3 separate regions of the Homo sapiens genome follow, and regions 1 and 3 are each linked to region 2. Evidence: promoter capture Hi-C in 16 types of primary human blood cells and fetal thymus (Javierre and others, 2016). All regions are on one chromosome and are shown on one strand. Each heading gives the region's core, a stretch centred on a gene start or on the middle of the fragment in contact. The rest is flanking DNA. Distances are from core to core; before and after follow the strand shown.

Region 1 (3,377 bases), core at 172-2,671, 200 kb after region 2:
GTCCTGGTGCATGTCTGTGGTCCTGACTACTTGGGAGGCTGAGGTGGGAGGATCACCTGAGCTTGGGGAGTTCGGGACTGCAGTGAGCTGCAGTTGCACCACTACATTCCAGCATGGGTGACAGAGCAAGACTTGTCTCAAGGAAAGAAAAAAAAGTATGGAGTGTCTAGGTATTCCTGGGGAGGAGTGGATTCCCCTGCCCCACCCTAACATTCTTATTAAATAAAATCTTATCTGAGGTGGTTTGAACTTGTGCATAGCAAAGCTGTGTGTAAATACTACAGTGTAGAGGCTTTTCTCGGCAGACCTCTTGAATGGGCACCTCTGCTGCCAAACGTTTGGGTGGAAAAACAGGTGTGTTTTGCAGCTGGCTACAGGCCTTTCTGAAGCATGCTCTGAAGTGATGTTCAGGTGTTTCAGGGCACTGGCAGCCTCCATATTTGTTAGTGCTAGGGAGCAACAGGGTTGAGATTCTGAAAACTGGAGTCACAAGTCTTGGGTTGGTGTTTGCTCTTTTAGCTAACTCTTCAAGTTGGTTTCCCAAAGCCCACTTTCAGCTGTAGTATGGTGTAGGTCAGTTTTCCATGTTACAGTGTTTGGGAGACTGACCCAAATAAAGACTTTGGTCTTTGACTTGGCAAGAGCAGCCTTTGGCTTTGCTTTGCTGGCCTTGAGCTGTACAGGTGTTCTGGCCTTTACATTTGGGGGAAAGGTGATGTAGTGATAGACAACTTGGGTGGCTGCTTAGATAATTTACTTTCTTTTAGGGAGTTAAAGTGCTGGTTTCAGAAGGCATATGAATATCAAAAAGGGCAATAGTGTGCAGTTTTTCCTCTATGGAGGACTCGAGAAGAAGTCCCTGGCTGGGTTTATAACCAAGGGCTCATATTTTCCTCCTGCCTGTGGAAGTGATATAATAAGGAAGGCATTCTCCGTGCTGTTGTATTTTTTTATAGCAGAAGCTGTTGTGGGCCATTCTCCCTCTCCAACCCCAGAGTTAGAATGTGAATCAGCAAAATCGGAGCTACAGCTCTGTCTAATCATCTGTGTATCCTTTAACCACTAAGATTTATATTTTGTGACTAATGATCTTGTGCTGGAAGTGCCATCTCCCACACAAGTCCCCAAAGAAAACTGGCTTTAAGGGCTCTGACTTAGAAACCAATTTTTCCCCCTCTCGTTTTTCCTGCAGGATCTATCTTGGGATCCCATGGCTTTCTTTACTGGGCTCTGGGGCCCCTTCACCTGTGTAAGCAGAGTGCTGAGCCATCACTGTTTCAGGTAACTTTTCCCATTAAGTTCTTAAAACTGTGTCTTTGTGTAAGCTTCCTATCAGGGCTGGGTATTACGGTGACTAGAACAGGAGTAAAAACTCAGGGAGGTGGGCATGGGGTTGGGGAAAGCTAAAGTGATCAGGCTGAGCTGGCCTGGTTGGTCTGGTCACAGGATGGGGGATAGGTAAAGAGGTGATGTTGCTGTTAGAAGTGTGATGGGGAATGGCATATGGCGGAAGCTTTTACTCTTCAGTCCTTGCAAGACTCTTACAGTGAATCTGACATCTCTCAACCCTATCATTCCCCTAGAGCATTAAAATCCTTTTAAAAACGGAATTTTTTTAATTACAAAAATAATACATGCTTATTACCAAGAACTTGAGCATGATAGAAGTGTGACACCCTCCCCTCCTTGTAGATGCTAAGCCAGGAGAGCACAGGAGGCACGCTTGTTGGCAGACATGCCTCCTGGCCCCGTCATGCCCTCATCCCACAGGCATTTCCTGAGCACCGCACCTGGGGTTGGCCATACAGAGATGAAAGAGAGTTGCTTTCTGTCCTGAAAGAATTCTCACTGTCAGCCACAGGAGCAAACTTGAAAATAAGTAACTCTAAGAAAATGTGATAGAATATTATAATAGAGGATTGTACAGTGCTTTGGAAGGCGTCATATAGGAGCTGCTAGTGGAGGAAGAGGAGGAGAAAGAGTGGAGGCAGTCTTCTCAAAAGGGAGATGGGGGCAGATCCTGTCTAGGCCTCCAGGGAGAATTGGGAGGCAGGGTGTGCTTGGGGAAGTGGTTCCTGGTTCTCCTGCCCAGAGTGGTAGGATGTGTAGCCTTAGAAGGTAGGTAAATTGGGACAAGGTTGTTGACAGTGTAGATGGTGGGGAGTAGCATCACTTTTATATTCTAAAGAGAGCTCTTTGTTGGCAAAGTGAAGTGCAATGGGAACCAACTAGGACACTAATGTCACAGTCTTGGTGTAGGAGAGTGAGCTGCTAAATGAAGGAAGTTGTTGGCGGGATTGGAGAGAAAGGACATAGGTGCTTAGGGGGTGATATTAACAGGACTTGGTGGCCAGTTCATGTTGGTGGAGAGAGGTTTATGGCTTGGCTTCTGGTACTGCTGGAGAAGCCATCGTCTAGATAAGTGTAGCAGCAGGCGGAGGTTTGCAAGGGGAGGCAGTGAGATGAGTTTGGGACCTACTGAGTTTGCAGTATCTATAGAGCATGTTGTAGGGAGTTGAGGAGAGTGGAAATATATAGAACTAGAATATAGAAGAGAGGCGGGGCTGGAGATGGAATTTACTAGTTGGCAGCAATGCTAATGGGTAAGATTGCCCAGAGTAGGCATAAAAAACGAGAGAAGAGGTCCTAGGATTACCCTGCGGAAACACCAGCATCAGGTGCTAGCATCAGGAAAATAGGAATCCCACTGTAATCAGCTTGCTTAATAATACCTTGTCTGCCTTCAATAAGTACTCTCTAAAATTTTTTTTTCTAATGAGAAAAAATGTATTAAAACAGAAGATTGTTACCTTGACTTATTACCAGTTTCTGGTATGTTGTGTCAGAGAATTCCCTTAGTAAACTTACCCATATCTTCTAGTTCCCAGCAACATGTAAATAAGAAAATTAGGGGACCGGGCGCGGTGGCTCACGCCTGTAATCTCAGCCCTTTGGGAGGCCGAGGCGGGCGGATCATGAGGTCAGGAGATCGAGACCATCCTGGCTAACACGGTGAAACCCTGTCTCTACTAAAAAATACAAAAAATTAGCTGGGCATGGCAGCAGGCGCATGTATTCCTAGCTACTTGGGAGGCTGAGGCAGGAGAATGGTGTGAACCCGGGAGGTGGAGCTTGCAGTGAGCTGAGATGGCGCCACCGCACTCTAGCCTGGGCGACAGAGCGAGACTCCGTCTCAAAAAAAAAGAAAATTAGGGAATGGTGTATTCTGGGGAAGCAGGTTTTTCAGGATAGGCAGTGGGTGAGGCCTAGCCCATAAGGGATTCCTTTAAGTCCTTAGAGTCCTTTTGGAAAGCAAAGGCTTTAAGTTATGGCTGCTGTGAAGTTCATTGTCACAGAAAAATTGGGTTCTCTTTAAA
Region 2 (3,460 bases), core at 444-2,943:
AAAAAAAAAAAGTTGATGTCAGTACTGAGTAGAGGCCCTGCCAGGTTTGTATGGCAAAACACTCCCATCTCAGTTTGGGAAATAATTTCACAGTCTTGTCTAAAGATCATCAATCTCAGCTGGGCGCAGTGGTGCATGCCTGTAATCCCAGCACTTCGGAAGGCTGAGGTAGGCAGGTCAGCTGAGGTCGGGAGTTCAAGACCAGCCTGACCAACATGGAGAAACCCCATCTCTACTAAAAATACAAAATTAGCCGGGCGTGGTGATGCATGCCTGTAATCCCAGCTACTCAGGAGGCTAAGGCAGGATAATTGCTTGAACCCGGGAGACAGAGGTTGCAGAGAGCCGAGATTGTGCTATTGCACGCCAGCACAACAAGAGTGAAACCCCATCTCAAAAAAATAAAAAAGTCATTAATCACACAGAAATCCCCAGCTGGCTTTAGCTTTCTGTTCCAGAAACACTGGAAAAACCAAAACAGGCCAAACACACTTTCAAAACAACACCTTTAATCTATGTGGGCAAAGGGAGAAAAAGGGGATCATGGAATAGGAGTTATAGGTGCTGTCAGAACACAAAGTTAAGAATTTACTATCACTATAGAAATTCAAGTCCAATGTAGATTCCGCAGAGAAACTATGTATACAAAGACCCCAAATAACTTAACACACACAGAATCGTGGCTAAAAGAGACCACCCTGATGGCTAAGGCCTTCTCGGTTATTACACTGACCTCAGCTCTGGAACCTCTATTGAGTTTTAGCTTTGGCAGATTCTCTTCTGTCTTCCCAATCTGTTTAATTTCCCAAGCCAAGGGCATCATGAGAAGCCCCATGAGCACCCTGATTGCATCCACAAGGGCCTGTTGGCTTCAGGGTCACAGCTGTTACTATGGAAAGACAGAAGGGAGAGGTAGAACAGGTATATCTCTTATCCTAAACGAAAACACACAAAACCTTAGGGCATTAGAAGGCTTAGAGAGTGAAATCTCTGCAGCTATTAGCCAACAGCTTCCTCCTGCCTTGACGACCTGGATTCTCTCTGATCCCCAGGCAAATGAGAAGACCAAATGTTAGGCAATTAATAATATAGCAGATGCTGTTTGGCTTCTGTGTTCTCCTATAGACTCCTGCTTCACGGGCAAAAATGGCCGTGTCTGATGCCAAGGTCCAAGGAAACTGGCAAATGCCTAGAACAGTGCCTAGCACATACTAGGTCTTCAATAAATATTTGTTGAATACCTCTTGAATGAATGCTGATACTCCCCTGTCACTCTCTGCCTTCTTCCCTCAGCCTGGAAAAACACACACAAAACACACACACACACACACACACACACACACGAAGTTGAATCCACACCTGTTTATTGCAACCCCATCTGTAACTTTGCAAAACTAATAAGCACAACAGCAATTACTGCTAGAATACGGATTTCAGTGGGCAGGGCATTTTGTCAATTTTGTACCCTAAAAGCCCAAAACAATGCCTAGCACATAGTAGGCTCTCAATGAATATTTGCTTAATGCCGAATGAATTAAGAGCCTACTATGTGCCGGGCGCTGTGCTAGACTCTGCCAGCGACCCAATCGATCGCTTCCACCCCGGCGGCAGAGGCCGCCCCCTGAGTCCTCCTACCGCCAGGGGCCGCTGTAGGAAACGCCTGGCTTCCTTCCCTCGTCACTCTTTGACCACGTAAAGTCACTGCCCGGAGCTACGATGGCAGCGTCAGTGGCAGCTGCAGCCCGGAGGCTGCGGCGGGCCATTCGAAGGTCGCCCGCATGGCGGGGCCTCAGCCATCGGCCGCTCTCATCGGAGCCCCCTGCAGCCAAGGCCTCGGCCGTGAGGGCCGCCTTTCTGAACTTCTTTCGGGACCGCCATGGCCACCGGCTGGTGCCCTCCGCTTCCGTGCGGCCCCGCGGCGACCCCAGTTTGCTTTTTGTCAATGCGGGCATGAACCAGGTGAGGGCCGAACCATACTGATAGGGAGCGGAGTTCGTGAGTTTTCTGGTGAGAAAGACGCTGCAGGATTGGGCAAAAGAAGCGAGAGGCGGAGTTCGTAGCTTTTGGGGAAAGAGGGCGGTGCTTGGTTGGGTAAAGTGATGGGGGTACGGCGCTCAGAGTATAGGGAGGGCTTGGGGAGGGCTTGAGCTGGGAACTTCTGGATTGGGATTGAGTATTAGGTCCAGAAATGGCTGGAGTGGAATCCCGAGGGAGAAGTCTGATTTCATTTATTCGTTATTTAAATAAAGATAACGCTTTCATTAAATGTTTATTGATCACCTATTGTTTGCTGAGTACTATTCTCTAAGGTTTTGGTTTTTATCAACCACTCATCTTTTCTAGACTTCATTGTCCTCATCTGTAAAATAGGGGCGGCATAAGTTAACCTTAGAGGCCGTCTGGGCTCCCTACTAAATGAGTCTCAGTTTTGTTCCCTGAAGTTATTGGGTGTGGTTGAAGAAGCTGAGACGGAGGATGCCACCTTTCAGCGTCCCATTTCCAGCTCCCAACACATTCCTCCTTCTTTTACCTTGCCTATTTTACTAGGCAGAGGGTCTCCGGTTCATGATTTGTTTACCTCTTCTCTGCTCCCCACACACCAGAGATGGCTGTCCCGAGGCTCCCAGTTTGTCCTCATAGACCAAGATTACACTGCACTCTCAGGGGCACAGTCAGCCTTCGGTCTGAACAGCCATCCCTATCCTCACTCCCCACATTTCCCTTCTACTGAGAAATTGGATATCCCTCTCCCCCTCCCCACTCTATGTGCTTCCAGTTCAAGCCAATCTTTCTGGGCACCGTGGATCCACGAAGCGAGATGGCAGGCTTCCGACGTGTGGCCAACAGCCAGAAATGTGTGAGAGCTGGAGGACACCATAACGACCTGGAAGATGTGGGTCGAGACCTTTCCCATCATACCTTCTTTGAAATGCTTGGCAATTGGGCCTTTGGGGGTGAATATTTTAAGGTGAGTCTCTGGGGATCAGTGATCAGCCAAGAAGGGAGTCAATTTGTCCTGTTTCCATTGTACTGTCTGCTTAGGCAGGGCCTCATACCAGATGTGGAGGCAAAGTGCTAGTTGAGCCGGTGTAACAGGAATTACCTCACCTCCCTGATTGGATTGTAAGTCCCTGAAGGGCAGAGACTGTACTTTCTGCCTAATGATCACTCAAAAATTGTTGTTTGAATAAATGGTCAAACAGCAATGCTAAGGTGCTTACTGGAGTTAAAGATCACTCTAGGCTAGAGTAGGCAGAGAATTTCATGTGAAAGTGGGACTTGGTCTGGGACTTGAAAGAAGATAGGACTTAGAAGAAGGGGGAAGCTTTCTGGGCAGGAAAACACTCAGAGGCAGTAATGGTTCATGGCTTATTCTGGGAACAAGATGGCAGCAGAAATGCTTTTGTCTTAAGTCGGGAGCTAAACTCATGTGGCTTGATTACTTCAGTGGGGTCTCCCT
Region 3 (3,657 bases), core at 340-2,839, 180 kb after region 2:
GACAGGGAGGGGTCTTAGGCCTGAGGACTCAAGGGTAAGATGAGGGGTCTCCACGTCAGGGGAGAATGGGTCAGGAGCCAGCTGCCTCATCCTGATCTTTTCTTTCTATGCCTATTAGAAAAAATGGCATGATTTCATTTGGTTAGAGTTTTGAACTCAATATAACTGGCTTAGGTTCGACGATGGGTCAGAGTAGGAAGTCAAGTAAATAGTAGGACTTCTGGGTTTGAGTTACCTGCCTGGCCCCAGCCACTCCTGCTTATTCTCATTTCTCTTCCCCATACCATAGTCCTCTCTCCAGTTATTTGCACAGGGATCGCCTGAGTGTTATGAGCACTACAACTCCCAGAGTGCCATGCTCCTGCCTCTGAAGCAGGGAAGGCTGGGAAAGCTATGCCCTACGGCAAGCTTTTCCACTGGCAAAGGAGGGGGGAGTGGGTGGGGGCCTCTTAGCCTGCCTGGGCAGCCAGGGTGCTGCCTGGTTGCCTGCAACTGGCCGGCTGCATTGATGCTCAGAGTGGATGGGGTGGGCAGGAGGAGAAAAGGGACAGCCAGCCTGAGTGCCTGGGTTCTCAAAGTGCTTGGGGACAGAGCAGAGTGGGGCCCTGGGGAGGATCCCAGGATAGCGGAGAAGTGTGGCCTCAACAGATGCAGCACTGCCCCACCCATTTTACTGGGGGGTCCCTGGGGGACCCTTCTGCTGACAACACTGAAGCTCTGCCTCGGGGGCGGGCTGTGGAGCAGGGGAGGAGGTCCTCAGGGAAGAAAAAGGAAAACCAAAGAGAACAACAAAACTAGAAACAGTGACTGCAACTTCGGGAGCAGCATCCCTTAGCCCCCAGGGGGACTCAGAGGGTTTCTCCTGCCTCTTCCTAACACTTCAACCACAGGGCAAGAGGCAGAAGCCCTCAGATGGAGGGGAGGATGGAGTTGTTTATGTGTTTCACTTGGTCCCAGGGAGTCTCTGCAAAGCCTGGATTAGGAAGACTAAAGGAGTGTGTGCTGGTGTGTTATGCCTCTTCCTTTTCCAGTCCAAGCTGCCTTTAAAAACACACTAATTTAGTAATTGTATTGGGTACCATTTGTCCAGTGCCCTCAGTTTCAAGAATAATATATTACATGATTTCATTTAATCCTCGACGATCCTGAATTGAGTGTCACTGACATTTTAGGGTGGGGGCACAGGGCCTCAGAGGTTAAGTAACTTTCCCAAGGTCACACTGCTAATAAAATGAGGGACCTAGGACTCAAACCTAGCTCACCTTCTTTCTAAAGCTAGAATGATTTTCAGGGCACCACGGTGCTTTTCTGATGTTCCTAGAACAGGACTCGGCAGACCATGGAAGCTTTATAAATGCTCATTAAATGTTCTCAGGCCAGAGAACCTGTGGGTGCTGTGGAAATGTGTGTGTCCAGGTATGTAAATGTGTGTTGATGTGTGGACCTGTGTCCAGGAGGAGCTAGGTGACTGCATGGCAGTCCACGGAAATGAAGGGAGTTGTTGGCTTCGAAGTGGGGGTGTGAACATGGGTGTGTCTGGGAGCCCGGGTATGTAAACATAAGATGCACAGAACCCTGGGGCACTATGGGAGGTTAAAGGTAGGTATAGGTATCTTGGGTTGGGGGGACTCTAACTAGTCCCCCTTTCTCAATTCTCAACTCCAATGTACTCCAGCAATCTCAACACTCTATTCCCACCCCTTGCCTGTTTCTCTCTCTGAATTCCAAGGCTCCATCAGATCAGAATGAAATGAGAACAAGCCCCAGAGTACCATTCCTATCAACTCCTGTCTTCTCCACACCAAAGAAAGGTAGAGCATTTTGGAAGCTTCTACATGAAGTGGCCCCAGCAGGGTGGACAGGATCTAGCTAGATGGTTAGTAACTGAAATCACCATGCTCCTCTGCTGTCCGCCTCCTTGGGGTCACAAAGTACTCTCCCCTCCACAACAGCATTAATCTTCCCACCTGCATGGGAGGAAGGCAGGGCACACTCAGATCACTATCCCCATTTTACAGGGAGGAAGCAGGAACCCAGTAGGGGAAGCAACTTGCACAGTGACAGGACAGGTAAGGGGTGGAGCCTGGGCTGGCAGCTCTGCCAGTTGACAGGGCTGCTCCAAGCTTTTAATTGTGGGGGTGGGGTTGCTGGGTTGAGTTTCATCAAGGGCAGCTGCTCTCAAAGCCAGCACTGGGCTGAGCAACTGAGAAGAGGGAAGACATTGAGGCAGAATACCTTGGGGATGGGAGGTGGCAGTTCTTCCACTCCACGAGGTGCCTGCACCAGCTATATCCCAGTTTCTCTAGTCTGATATTGAGGTTTTGGTTGAGGTGTGTCCAGAGAGTGATGGAGCATTTTACTTCTAGCTAACTTTTTAATTTTACCATTAAGGAGTGTGTGCATGGTGGGGGTTGGAGAGCTATAACTTATAAGCTTTTTTTTGGGGGGGTTGTTGTGTATTTTTTTGAGACGGAGTCTCGCTCTGTCACCAGAGTGGAGTGCAGTGGCGCGATCTTGGCTCACTGCAACCTCTGCCTCCTGGGTTCAAGGGATTCTCCTGCCTCAGCCTCCTGAGTAGCTGGGACTACAGACACATGCCACCACGCCCAGCTAATTTTTGTATTTTCAGTAGAGACAGGGTTTCACCATGTTGGCCAGGATGGTCTCGATCTCTTGACCTCATGATCTGCCCACCTCGGCCTCCCAAAGTGCTGGGATTACAGGAGTGATATAAGCTTTTTCAGTGGAGTTACTGGGCAAGATTTAAGTTAGGGCTTTGGATCAAAGCAAGGCCATGTGGTCTGAGGGGAGGAGGGGAAGATGGAAGCGAGCTCTGTTACTACGAAACCTGAGTCTCAGTCTTCCAATCTGTAACAAAGAGATACAAATATCCTTACTCTACCCCTACCCACTTCAGAGAGAAAGGCAAGAATATATCCACAAGTGAGCATAAAAGTAGTAGTAGGTGCCAGGCACGGTGGCTCACACCTGTAATCCCAGCATTTTGGGAGGCCGAGCTGGGCAGATCACAGGGTCAGGAGTTCGAGACCAGCCTGGCCAACACAGTGAAACCCCGTCTCTACTAAAAAAATACAAAAATTAGCTGGGTGTGGTGGCATGCGTCTGTAGTCCCAGCTACTCGGGAGGCTGAGGCAGGAGAATCACTTGAACCCAGGAGGCAGAGGTTGCAGTGACCTTAGATCATGCCACTGCACTCCAGCCTGGGCGACAGAGTGAGACTCCATCTCAAAAAAAAAAGTAGTAGTAGGCAGGGTGGGGTGGCTCACCCCTGTAATCTCAGCACTTTTGAAGGCCAAGTGGGGAAGATACCTTGAGCCTAGGAGTTGGAGGCTGCAGTCAGCCATGATCATGCCACTGCACTCCAGCCTGGGCAAGAGAGCAAAACCTTGTCTCGAGGGGAAAAAAAAAAAAAAGCCAGGCATGGTGGCTCACACCTGTAATCCCAGCACTTTGGGAGGCTGTGGTGGGAGAATCACGTCAGCCCAGGAGTTCGAGACCAGCTTGGGCAACATAGCAAAACCCCGTCTCTACAAAAGATACCCCCCACCACCAAAATTTAGCTGGGCATGCTGGTGCATGTCTGTAGTCCCAGCTACTCCGGAAGCTGAGGTGCGAAGATCACCTGAGCCCAGGGAG

The links. The method cuts DNA at HindIII sites, captures the fragments that hold promoters and counts their contacts. A CHiCAGO score of 5 or more calls a contact.
Region 1: a fragment that was not itself captured here is called in contact with the fragment with the promoter of AARS2 in region 2 in 3 of 17 cell types (total B cells, naive B cells and erythroblasts); the score reaches 7.0 in total B cells.
Region 3: a fragment that was not itself captured here is called in contact with the fragment with the promoter of AARS2 in region 2 in 1 of 17 cell types (total B cells); the score reaches 5.2 in total B cells.

The regions. Positions count from the first base shown.
Region 1 is chr6:44,114,445-44,117,821 of GRCh38, reverse strand. MRPL14 (mitochondrial ribosomal protein L14) reads left to right here. Exons shown (of 3, transcript NM_032111.4): 2 at 1,193-1,281. The coding sequence starts at 1,211. Among named protein-coding and RNA genes, the nearest start is that of MRPL14, 11 kb to the left of the region's middle. RefSeq lists an enhancer at 447-616. The HindIII fragment of the contact is 188 bases long and covers 1,328-1,515 here.
Region 2 is chr6:44,311,580-44,315,039 of GRCh38, reverse strand. AARS2 (alanyl-tRNA synthetase 2, mitochondrial) reads left to right here and starts at 1,693. Exons shown (of 22, transcript NM_020745.4): 1 at 1,693-1,959; 2 at 2,777-2,968. The coding sequence starts at 1,717. LOC124901322 (a long non-coding RNA gene) reads right to left here. Exons shown (of 3, transcript XR_007059594.1): 3 at 493-889. RefSeq lists an enhancer at 1,389-1,948. The HindIII fragment of the contact is 8,838 bases long and covers 1-3,327 here.
Region 3 is chr6:44,130,527-44,134,183 of GRCh38, reverse strand. The region is part of intron 1 of TMEM63B (transmembrane protein 63B); the gene reads right to left. Among named protein-coding and RNA genes, the nearest start is that of TMEM63B, 4.8 kb to the right of the region's middle. RefSeq lists enhancers at 1-53, 462-631, 54-1,019 and a silencer at 2,864-3,023. The HindIII fragment of the contact is 482 bases long and covers 1,349-1,830 here.